2 separate regions of the Homo sapiens genome follow, and region 1 is linked to region 2. Evidence: promoter capture Hi-C in human tissues and cell types (Jung and others, 2019). All regions are on one chromosome and are shown on one strand. Each heading gives the region's core, a stretch centred on a gene start or on the middle of the fragment in contact. The rest is flanking DNA. Distances are from core to core; before and after follow the strand shown. Region 1 overlaps TFAP2B (transcription factor AP-2 beta). Region 2 holds the start of TFAP2D (transcription factor AP-2 delta).

Evidence for each region. The method cuts DNA at HindIII sites, captures the fragments that hold promoters and counts their contacts. A contact is called where the count stands out against the background at its distance.
Region 1: a fragment that was not itself captured here is called in contact with the fragment with the promoter of TFAP2D in region 2 in 2 of the 25 tissues and cell types used here (H1 embryonic stem cells and neural progenitor cells).

Annotation. Positions count from the first base shown.
Region 1 is chr6:50,845,104-50,850,048 of GRCh38, reverse strand. It overlaps TFAP2B (transcription factor AP-2 beta), which reads right to left. Exons shown (of 7, transcript NM_003221.4): 7 at 2,430-4,945. Among named protein-coding and RNA genes, the nearest start is that of TFAP2B, 29 kb to the right of the region's middle. RefSeq lists enhancers at 28-527, 528-1,029. The HindIII fragment of the contact is 5,266 bases long and covers 1-4,837 here.
Region 2 is chr6:50,711,494-50,716,047 of GRCh38, reverse strand. TFAP2D (transcription factor AP-2 delta) reads right to left here and starts at 2,522. Exons shown (of 8, transcript NM_172238.4): 1 at 1,954-2,522; 2 at 435-932. The coding sequence starts at 1,992. RefSeq lists an enhancer at 258-788. The HindIII fragment of the contact is 8,496 bases long and covers 954-4,554 here.

The DNA.
Region 1 (4,945 bases), core at 955-3,454, 130 kb before region 2:
TCCCTCCCCTAGGATACCGCGATCCCGGCGGAGAGGAACGGGAGGAGAGCGCGCCCCCCCGCCCCACACCCCACCCCGTCGTGGGTCGGGTCTGCCCGAGTCTTCCCCAAGTTTACACCAGGATCGTTAGAGAGCCAGGGAATACATGTAAATAAACAGCTTGGAAGATTTATGGGAAGGAGTTCAATTTTATAGGACTGTATTTATAGAGCAAGCGCTGGCTCACTTATAAATAGATTAATGGGAAGCTCAAATTAATGGACTTGTGAGCTGCACGTTTAATTTCTGAGGCTTCAACATGACAGACAACCGCCCTCAAAGTCCAAGCGTGGAAGGCAGCTTGCCCTGAGAAGCCGAGAGCGCCCTCAGGAAGGGACACTTCCCACCGGGCCAACAACTCTCAGGTGGCCCCTAACTTCGGCGCCCAGGGTCCCTGGGAAGGGACCCTACGGAACTGTTATTTGCAAATGAAGAAAAGGAATGTGGCTTCATAAAAAAATAATCGGGTCTTCCTTCCAGCACTATTTTTAATCAAGCCCTTAACCCGCTAACACGAGCCGGCGGGTGCGTTCTGGGCCACTGTAAGCCGCCCACCGGATCTGGCGGTCTCAGGGTCCCTGCGCTGGGCCGGTCAACGACCTAGAGGTTCTAGCTACTGCTCTTTCCTTACTCCCTCTACAGCCTGCTAACACTGTAACAAAGGGGCCGGGGAGCTGTGACACGCAGCCCAGGGCTGTCTTAGTCAAGGCTGTCTCCAGCTTCCAACCCCTTTTCTTTCCCTTTTTGGTTATTCTTGCCAGGTCTTTCCTTCAGTTATTTTCAGGCTCCTCAAAATCTTGGGTTTTACTTACTAAAGGTGATTGTTTCAGACCCTCTTTTTGCCAAGTGGCGGTGGTGGGTAGGAGTAGCCTGGAGCTTACCTGTGGGATAATAGATTGCAGGTCGGTTTATCAAGGGCTCGTGCTAACCTTGAGCAGGAAAAATTGCCATACGATATGGAAATTACCCACCACCTGCTTTGTATAATCCCAGTGGTAACCAACTCCCATCCTCTGTAAAGCAAATGAAAGGAACACTCAGTGTAACAATTGAACCAGAGAATAAGACATATCTATTTTTTTCTAGATAAATGTATGTCCTCATAAGCACACATCCCTTGGTTTTCTCTGCTTCCTTGTTTCCTTTTATTCCCCCCCCCATTTTTTGTTTTTTGTTTTTTTTTGTTTGTTTGTTTGTTTTGCTTTTCTTTGATTCCACTATTTATAGTTCTAGCCATGATCTTCCCGCTTTTAATTAATAGGACAGGAAGGGGGAAATCTCACATAAAGCAGATTCCATTGTTCCTTCTGCCTTTCCCTATAAGGAAGTCCAATTGAAAAAGATTCACGTTTAAAAACAGAAAATTGGTATGGGAGGCATATTATTAACTGAAAACAAACTATATGCTAAGCACTGATATATAAATCTGGGATCATCATGATTTAAAGTTTCCAATTCTCCTTAAACTCATATACAGGTTGCTGTTTCTGCTTTTTATAATTAAACTATAGGCAATATTGATGAAGTAAAGGACCTTAGGAGGTCCATATTTATTTTTACAGATAAAGACCTTGAGGCGCAAAAAGGAGCAGTGACTCATCCAAACTGTTTAACATCGTGGGTGATTTTGCTTTCCTGGCCTCAAGGAAGACACCTAAGCCTTGGAATAAAATACAGATTGAGACGATGTTTGATCACTGCAGCCCATTAGGGCCCAGCTGAAGCCTATTAACCCAGGTGTGAAAAGCTCTGGCTTCTCTAGGCAGCCTCTGAGCCTAGGGTAGGAGCCCCCCAACTTCCTAAGACATGTACACTTTTTTCCTCTTCTCAGTTGAGGGAGCTTTTTCCTCCATTGTTTATGGAGGGCCTTGCACTGCTAATGAGGTCAGGGTCGGGTTCAATTCTGAAATGGGGGTTAACTCCTTCATATCCCAAGTTGAGGGGTGCAGGAGCCCACACCCAGCCCTGAAGACTTCTCCTGCACCGTGCACCATCTCCTTCTTAGAACACTATGCCAGAATGCCAACCCACGAGCAGTGGGAAGGGAGCATCATCTCTGACAGCAACCCAGAGTCCTCTAGTTACCTGGGAAGTAAATTTGACTCCTCGATTTGTAAAGGGCAGAAGAAACCAAAAGATTCAGTTAACATTAGCTTTTATTGCAAATCTGGTTAGAAATAGGAGAGAAGAATGTAAATTTGGAATTTAAAAAAATCAAAAACACTTCTCCTAGTGAAAAAAAGTTCATTTTTCTGAGAAGCAAAATTTATTATATTTCTGTTGTAATGAAAACGCTGTGGGTGCTTCGATGGGGGAGGACAAAAAGTAAAAAGCTTCTTACACTTTTCCTCTGTCGGTAGAATTAAAAACATTGTCCACATTTAAGAAACTGAAGATGAAAACACAACAATCTTTTTATTTATGTAAATCAGATTAACACTGGACAATAAACCAATTTCTACCCATTACCATAACAGCTTGTTTATAAAGAACAGAAAAATTCAGATAGGATTCTATCTAGGGTCAAGAGGTTTTTTAACCACCCATTCACAGAGGTATAGATTCACAGATAAATAATCCCAAACTACTTGCTCGCCATATTTACACATTCCCATTAAATTAAGCATAAATAAATATATACAAACTTAACATGAATACCCTCCAGAGCTCTTCTCGTGAAGAGTCAATAGATTGATATTTCTTGATTGTGTGGCAAAAACAATGTTAGAGAATTAGAGACCAACTCAAAGGTGGAGTCGATTTTGGCATTTAAAGAAGGATAGTGTTCATTCCGTTAAAAAAAAATTGATACTTTTTTTTTTAAGCCAGTAATTTCACATACATCGTCAAAGGTGGGGAAACGCCGTTTGGGCTCTTGAGGCAACATCAGACGGTTTAAGGTTATTTCCTTTCCACATAATGTATTACAAGTACAGGATATCAGATGTGATGACAAATTCTCTATAAACACTCTTAACTAGGAAAGCATTGTAGCAGAGGAACAGTGTGTAGATAAGCTCGAGGTTTCGAGTTTTCCATTCGACCAAAGTTTTCGTAGGATATGAAATAATTGCTTGAGAGAAAGTGGCTTCCTTGGCCAAGGAAAACAAAGCAGCCAGGTCTTTAAAAGCCTCTTCGGTTCTTTAAGTGGGGATGGAGGAAAGCTATGGGTGTGGAGGCCAGAAGGAAGGAAAGAAAATGCAAGGTAATTGGGGGTGTAGGAGTGAAGGTGGTGGGGAAAAGGGGGAGAAAGTTACCTTCCCACTTTGGGGGAGAAGTTAAAGATCTTTTTAGGTGACGGAATCCTCACCCAAACAGGACATTTCTTGCTCCCCAGAGACCTGCAATACGTGCAGGAGGCGGCAGGGTTTGGCAGAGAATGGTCTGGAGATCTTTGGAACCTTTAAAAGAACTTGCGAAGTGGAAAGTGTGAAGGCAGCACTGCCACATCCTGACTCCTCCTGTCTTTCGCTATTTTGTTTTGGGACTGAGCGTTTAGGAGTGGGCAGGGACCAAATGTCTGAAGAGTGCAGGGGCCGGGGGGAGAGCTGCAACTCACCTGTTTGGTTTGAAAACAAAGCTCAAAGGGGCTTGCCTTAAACGTCTCCCTTGACTTAAAAGGCAAACTATTGCGTTAATCCTACTGTTTATTGATTTATAGGCCCAAGGAAACCAAATCTTTTAATAACTCAATTATCAGATAAATGTAGCGGGCCTGGCTAAGGAAAGCAAGGGGGCGGGGGTCCTACATGAAAGGAGAAGTGAGGGAGGGAGAAGGGGTAGTGGGCTCACTCCACGAAACGGGGTTGGGGGCGCAAAAGGTTCTATCTCGCTGGAGCAAGGAGGAACACACAAATGAGGGCGTCTGGCAATGAAGGTACCCTGCCTTGCCAAGTAAGACAATTCCCATCCCATCTCCCCGCTTTAGGATTGTGACGGTGGGGTGTTTCCGTACTGGCAGAGGTGGAGGAGGGGAAGCTTCGGATTCCTTGGATATTTCTAGGCCACTCTCCCTCCAGGAGCCGGCGCCCCGGGTGGCCGCTGGCGGCGCTGGGAGCCCTCCCCACCTGCAGCCCACCGGGCGCCGCCCCATTACCTACTGGAGAATGGGGCTTTCTCGGTCGCCTTAGCCCTTAGGGTGAGACCGAGAGCGGGAAGGGCCCGCGCAGTCGGCAGCCCCTCCAGCGGCTGATTCTATGTCCTCAACACGACTGGGCGCCTGTGGCCCACACGCTCTCAGGACCTGCACAGTAAGAGCAAGGCGCGTCCATCGCGTCTCTCGCACGTCACACGCGTGGGGCGCGTTGCCCTGCAAGGAAAGGAGACGATCGTTTTCAGTGTGGTCTCTCCTGGCCTTGTGCAATCAGAACACATCTAATGCGATCGGCCGAGCTCTCGGACGAAGGCGCAGGCCTCTGAGCTGGGAAAAGAGAGTGACTACACTCTCCGTAACGTCTAGCTCTTGGCCATTGCATTCCTCTCAACAGTTCTAGGGCTGGGCCATGAAGATCAGAAGTGCTAAACGAAGCTAGGGGTTGGAGATGGGCTGCAGTGTGGCCCTAACAGTTGCTTGGGCCCTTTTGGTGACCTGAGACGAGCTTCCTAACTTCCCTTTCCTCTTTTAATAAAAATGGGCAAAGCTCTCAGCAGATTCCTAAAACCCCAACGCAATCCCCACTCCCCCAATCCCCACCCCCACCAAGGCAAAGCGGGAGGGGGGCAAAACCGGGAGTCCTGGAGAATTGAGTGGGTCCTAACTATAAATCCTGCAGAACAACATCTATGTCGTTATCTTTAAGGGGTATTGCAAAGATCTCGTCTACTTTGTTAAATAGGTGAGTGTATCAACACTATATTTAGAGACCTCTCTCATTCACCCTTATCCCGGGATAATTTCTCACTGCTT
Region 2 (4,554 bases), core at 1,273-3,772:
GCGGAGATTGAGGGTACGATTGGTCATCAATTTATTGGATCTTACTCTGAGTCCGGTTGGCCCAACCCCAGACTCCTCGATCTCCTCCACCTCATCCCCTCAGGGTCACAAATGTTGATTCACAAAAGACTTCTGTGAGGACAAACCAAAGATGGAGGGCCGCAGCCGCCCGGACTCCCGCACTTCCAGGTGAAATGCTTGGATCCAATGAGAGGAAGAGAACGGGCACACTCCTCCTCTAATTGTTTTGATAACTTTCCATAAGTGGTGTGTGTGTGTGTGTGTGTGTGTGTGTGTGAGAGAGAGAGAGAGAGAGAGAGAGAGAGGAGAAGAGAGAGAGAAAGAGAGACGCTTTACAGTCGGAGCATTAATGGGGCGGCAGGGGGAGGGCGAAGAGGGGAGGGAGCAGACAAATTCGCTGCATGCTTATTTACCTGCAAGTCGTCTGCTCCCGCGGCGGCCAGCCCCAGGCTGGGCCCTGGCAGGAGTCTTTGATCTGGGTGCATTCCATACTGAGAGCCATGGCTCATGAGGGACAGGTCATGGCGGCGGTAGGCATCGAGGCAGCCCAGCTCCCGCCTCTGCTCGTCCAGGCAGGACGACTTGAGCGCCCGCGCATTGTGCAGGTTAATAAAGTCGGTGGGCTCCCCGTGGTGGATCTGCTGGTAGTACTGTTGCGAGTGGTGGAGAGAGTTCAGAGAGTAGGCGTCGGGGGTGACGGCCGGGTGGCTGTGCTGAAACTCGTAATGGAAGGACTGGTGGTGGAGCGGGGTGTACTGGTGGTTAGTGGAGAAGTAGGGGGACGCAAACTCGGTGCCGGTGGTGGAGTAAGTTAAAGGAGAGGAGGAGGAATAGGCGACAGTGGAATTGGCTACTGACTCCAGACAGCCAAGCTGCATCAAACGGTAGCTGTTTGATCCGTCGTGACGTATCTGGAAGGAAGAGGGGGAAAAGGGAGAGCAGAAAAACTTGAGGTTTGTCATTTTGCAACCAAGGCGCCGCTCTCCCGGAGCCAGGAGCTTTCTCTGGCACTCCAAGGAAAGCGAGCGCGTAGGACTCGGGCCGAGCCGAAGCCGGGTCTCAGCGTCTTCACCAGAGAGCCTTTGCAAACAGGCGAACTGGGGGTGGGCGGCCTCGTCCTCACAGTCGAGAGAGCGGAAAAAAAATCCCCCACCCTATATAGGTGCGGGTGACACCACACACGCACACACACGCACAGACACACACACACAGACACACACACAGCCCCTGCCCAACTTGTGCAGGGAGCTTGGCGTTGGGATCCAGGTTTGCAACTGACTCCGGGGCCGCGGGTAGCAGAGGAACGAGTCCACCCGAAAAGAGCGCTGGCCCGGGGCGCCTTGCCACTCTAACTAGACCCCAGCATCGAAATTCTGCGCCTGTCTATGCCGAGATGTTCGGCCCGGGCTGCTCAAAATCATTGTCCATATATTTTAAAAAATCCAGTCTGTGCAAATCGTTCAACTTGCTCCCTTCCTTAGTCATTCGAGGGAGGGAATCCGACTCCCTCTTTTCTGCTTCCCTTTCCTTGAATAAGCCCATTCCAAAAGGGGTGCGTTTTCCCCATCCCCCTTGTGCATCTACTGCTTCCCCACCAGTCCCTTTTCTTTGCTTTTCTGAGAATCTTTCTTTCCGTCTCTATCTCTTTCTCTTCACTCCCCCCTTTTATTATTAAGATTATGTTTTCCCGCTCATTATGGCAAATGTTTCTTAACGTGGCAGAGAGTTGCCCTCCCTGGCGACAGATGTCATAACGAACTTTCTCCCCTTTCCTTCCTTAACTTCCCCCGAAAGACAGATTATAATTAAACGTAACGGTCCAATATAGATTAGAGACAGGGGAGGCTGCCACCGCCGCCGCCACCGCCGCCACCGCCGCCGCCGCCACACACACGCGCGCTCAAAAAAAAAAAAAAAAAAAAGTAATAATACCTCGGCATCGTGGACTAGTCCCGGAAAGGTAGTTGACATGTTGGGTTTCTCCGAAAGCTTACGATGCAATTTCCCCCTCCAAAAAAAGAATCGGGAAAAAAAAATCCAAACTTCTTGTATTTTCCAATTTTTAAAGGAAAAAAAAAATGTTCTATAGGTAGATATCTAAATTGTAATGGTTTTGCCCGGATCAGATAGCTCCTTGCCTCGTACCCACTTAAAAACCTGTAGGAACAAAATTTTCCCTCTGCACAAAAGCAGCTCCCTGGAACAGATTTTGTACTTGCTGAGTATTTCTTTGGCTGATGTCGTAGGTCCCTTGGTAATATAGAAGTTTTGAAAATTAAGCATCAGCACTGAGAACTGGGAGGACAATAGGCAGAAGAGATTTATCCCAGGAGACAAGGAATAAATATTGTATCTTCGCCTAATAAGGAACTGGAGGTTCTTTCAACATTTTTATCCATTTTTTCCAACCTTTATCATGCTTTTCTATACCGACTGAGGTGGGGACTTATCTCTGTGGAGAGTATTTGCACACATTTTATTGTGAAGCTAGAGCTCTAGCTCCAATATATGTATATTAGAGATAGAAATATATATTAATTAAAGCTTCCTTTTATATGGGGAAGTGTTCATTCCTATTGGTTCCACTCCCTGGATGCTGAAAGCTGCTTTTTCCAACAACCACCCGAATCAATTTTGCCCAGATTGGGGTGTCTGCCTTCGCCCAAGTGGAAACAATGCTGGTCTTTCCATATTTACATTGAATTTGGGTTCTTTCCCCTTTTTTGAAAGGCAAAATCAAGCGGTGGCTTACACTTTTCAGCAGCTTTAAAAATAAATAATGGTGATGGACAGTCCCAAGTTTCCATCATCAGGAAATGGTGTAACTGGCAATGCATTTAGGAAAAATGCAAGGGAATAAAGATGTAAGACAAGATTCTACATTTAGGTAAACTGTTGTCTTTCACTCCCCAAACCAAACCATATCCCCCCTCTTTTGTGTTTTTCTTCTTCCCTTTTGGAAACACTGCTGGTGGTGGTGGGGTGTAGACCGTTCAGCAGTAGCATTAGGTTTTTGAACACTATTACCCCCAAAATAACCCTTAAATGCTTGGAAGTTATATTTTATAAATAGAGGGCAGGAAGGAAGCAGTGCACACATATTTCCATCTCTTCAGTGGATTTCTTGACTTTCAAACAGTTTTTGAGCTTTCCTTCCTTCAAAATTCAGCTTCCTCCACCAAGTTGTTTAGTGCCTGGAGGGGGTGGTGGTAGCTATAAACCTGAAATACTGAGGCTTTGCTCCTCAGTGTCTACATTATAAGAAAGAACTGGCTGGCCCCACAGACTCATCTCATAGATAGAAGGGGTAATTCAGTCTTAATTGCCATTTCATTTGGTTTGCTTTTAAGTGTTTAAGCTGAGAAGGTGTCTTAATAATAAGCCTCAGGCAAACAGGCATGTGGCTTTTTTTTTTTTTAGGTTGGGGTTTGGGAGGGTTTATTAGGATCTGCTCATGCAGGCTAACTGGGGCTGTCACTCAGAGCTCTTTGCTTTATACAAATGGACAAAGGCACACGACAAGAATTGAAATGCATTGTCTGAAATGGAGATACACGATTCTTCAGCCCCACATGGGGTCAGCAGCCAACACTTGTTCCCTATTTCAAGGTGTGCCAGTGCTGCCCCCCTCCCACCCCTCCTTGAAATTCCATATTTTGGCCTAATGAAGTAAGGAGACTGAGAGACCAATGATGACAAAAAGGAAGAATATCCAACTTAATCTTTAAGTAAAAGGGGTAAAATGAGTGCTGTTGGCTCTAGGGGTTGAATCCCAAAAATGTTTGCAGTGGAGTCTTTGTTTACCAGGTCTGAGTGGGGCCTCCATAGCTTACCCACGGAGAAAATAACTAATCATCTCTGGGAGATGGAGACTGCCCCCACGACCTTAACTCAGGCACCCCTGCCCCTGGGAAAGTGCAGACCATTCCCTGGAAGAATATGTAGGACTTGCAGGTTATCTTGGGGAATGCCCAGGTGCGCTTTTCCTGGTGGATGATATTGGCTTCCCAGTTAGTCCCGGTCAAATGGAAGAGGATAGCCCTTCTCAGACATGTTGCAATCTCCTTTCCAACACCCCTACTGTCAGATACACCTTCATTGAAGGTGACGGTACCTTCTCTTCCCAGTTTAGGTCCAGGCAGCAGACACAAAACCCTCTCCCCGGGGAACAACAATGAGGAAGCTCAGGAAGATGTGGCCGCCTGCTCTGCCTGCTGGCCCAGAGTGTTTGTTCCACATGTTTGTCCCTGTCTGGAATAAGAGCCACACATAGCCCCCCTCACCCCTGCCACCGCACTCAGAAGATATAGCTTTATGATACTCTCGGTAATGAGCTCTGGCCTTGAACTGAGTACACCCCATGGAATGACCTCCAGTAGCCTGGACCCTGTGAACATCAGGACATCACCAACTAACTGGCAATCATCGCATTCCACCCCCTAACCCCACTTTCATGGTTCACTTTCCTGAGTGACTTTTAGGTATCCAAACAAAGAGTGTCCAGGGTTTAACTTACATGCTTGTTGAACTCTT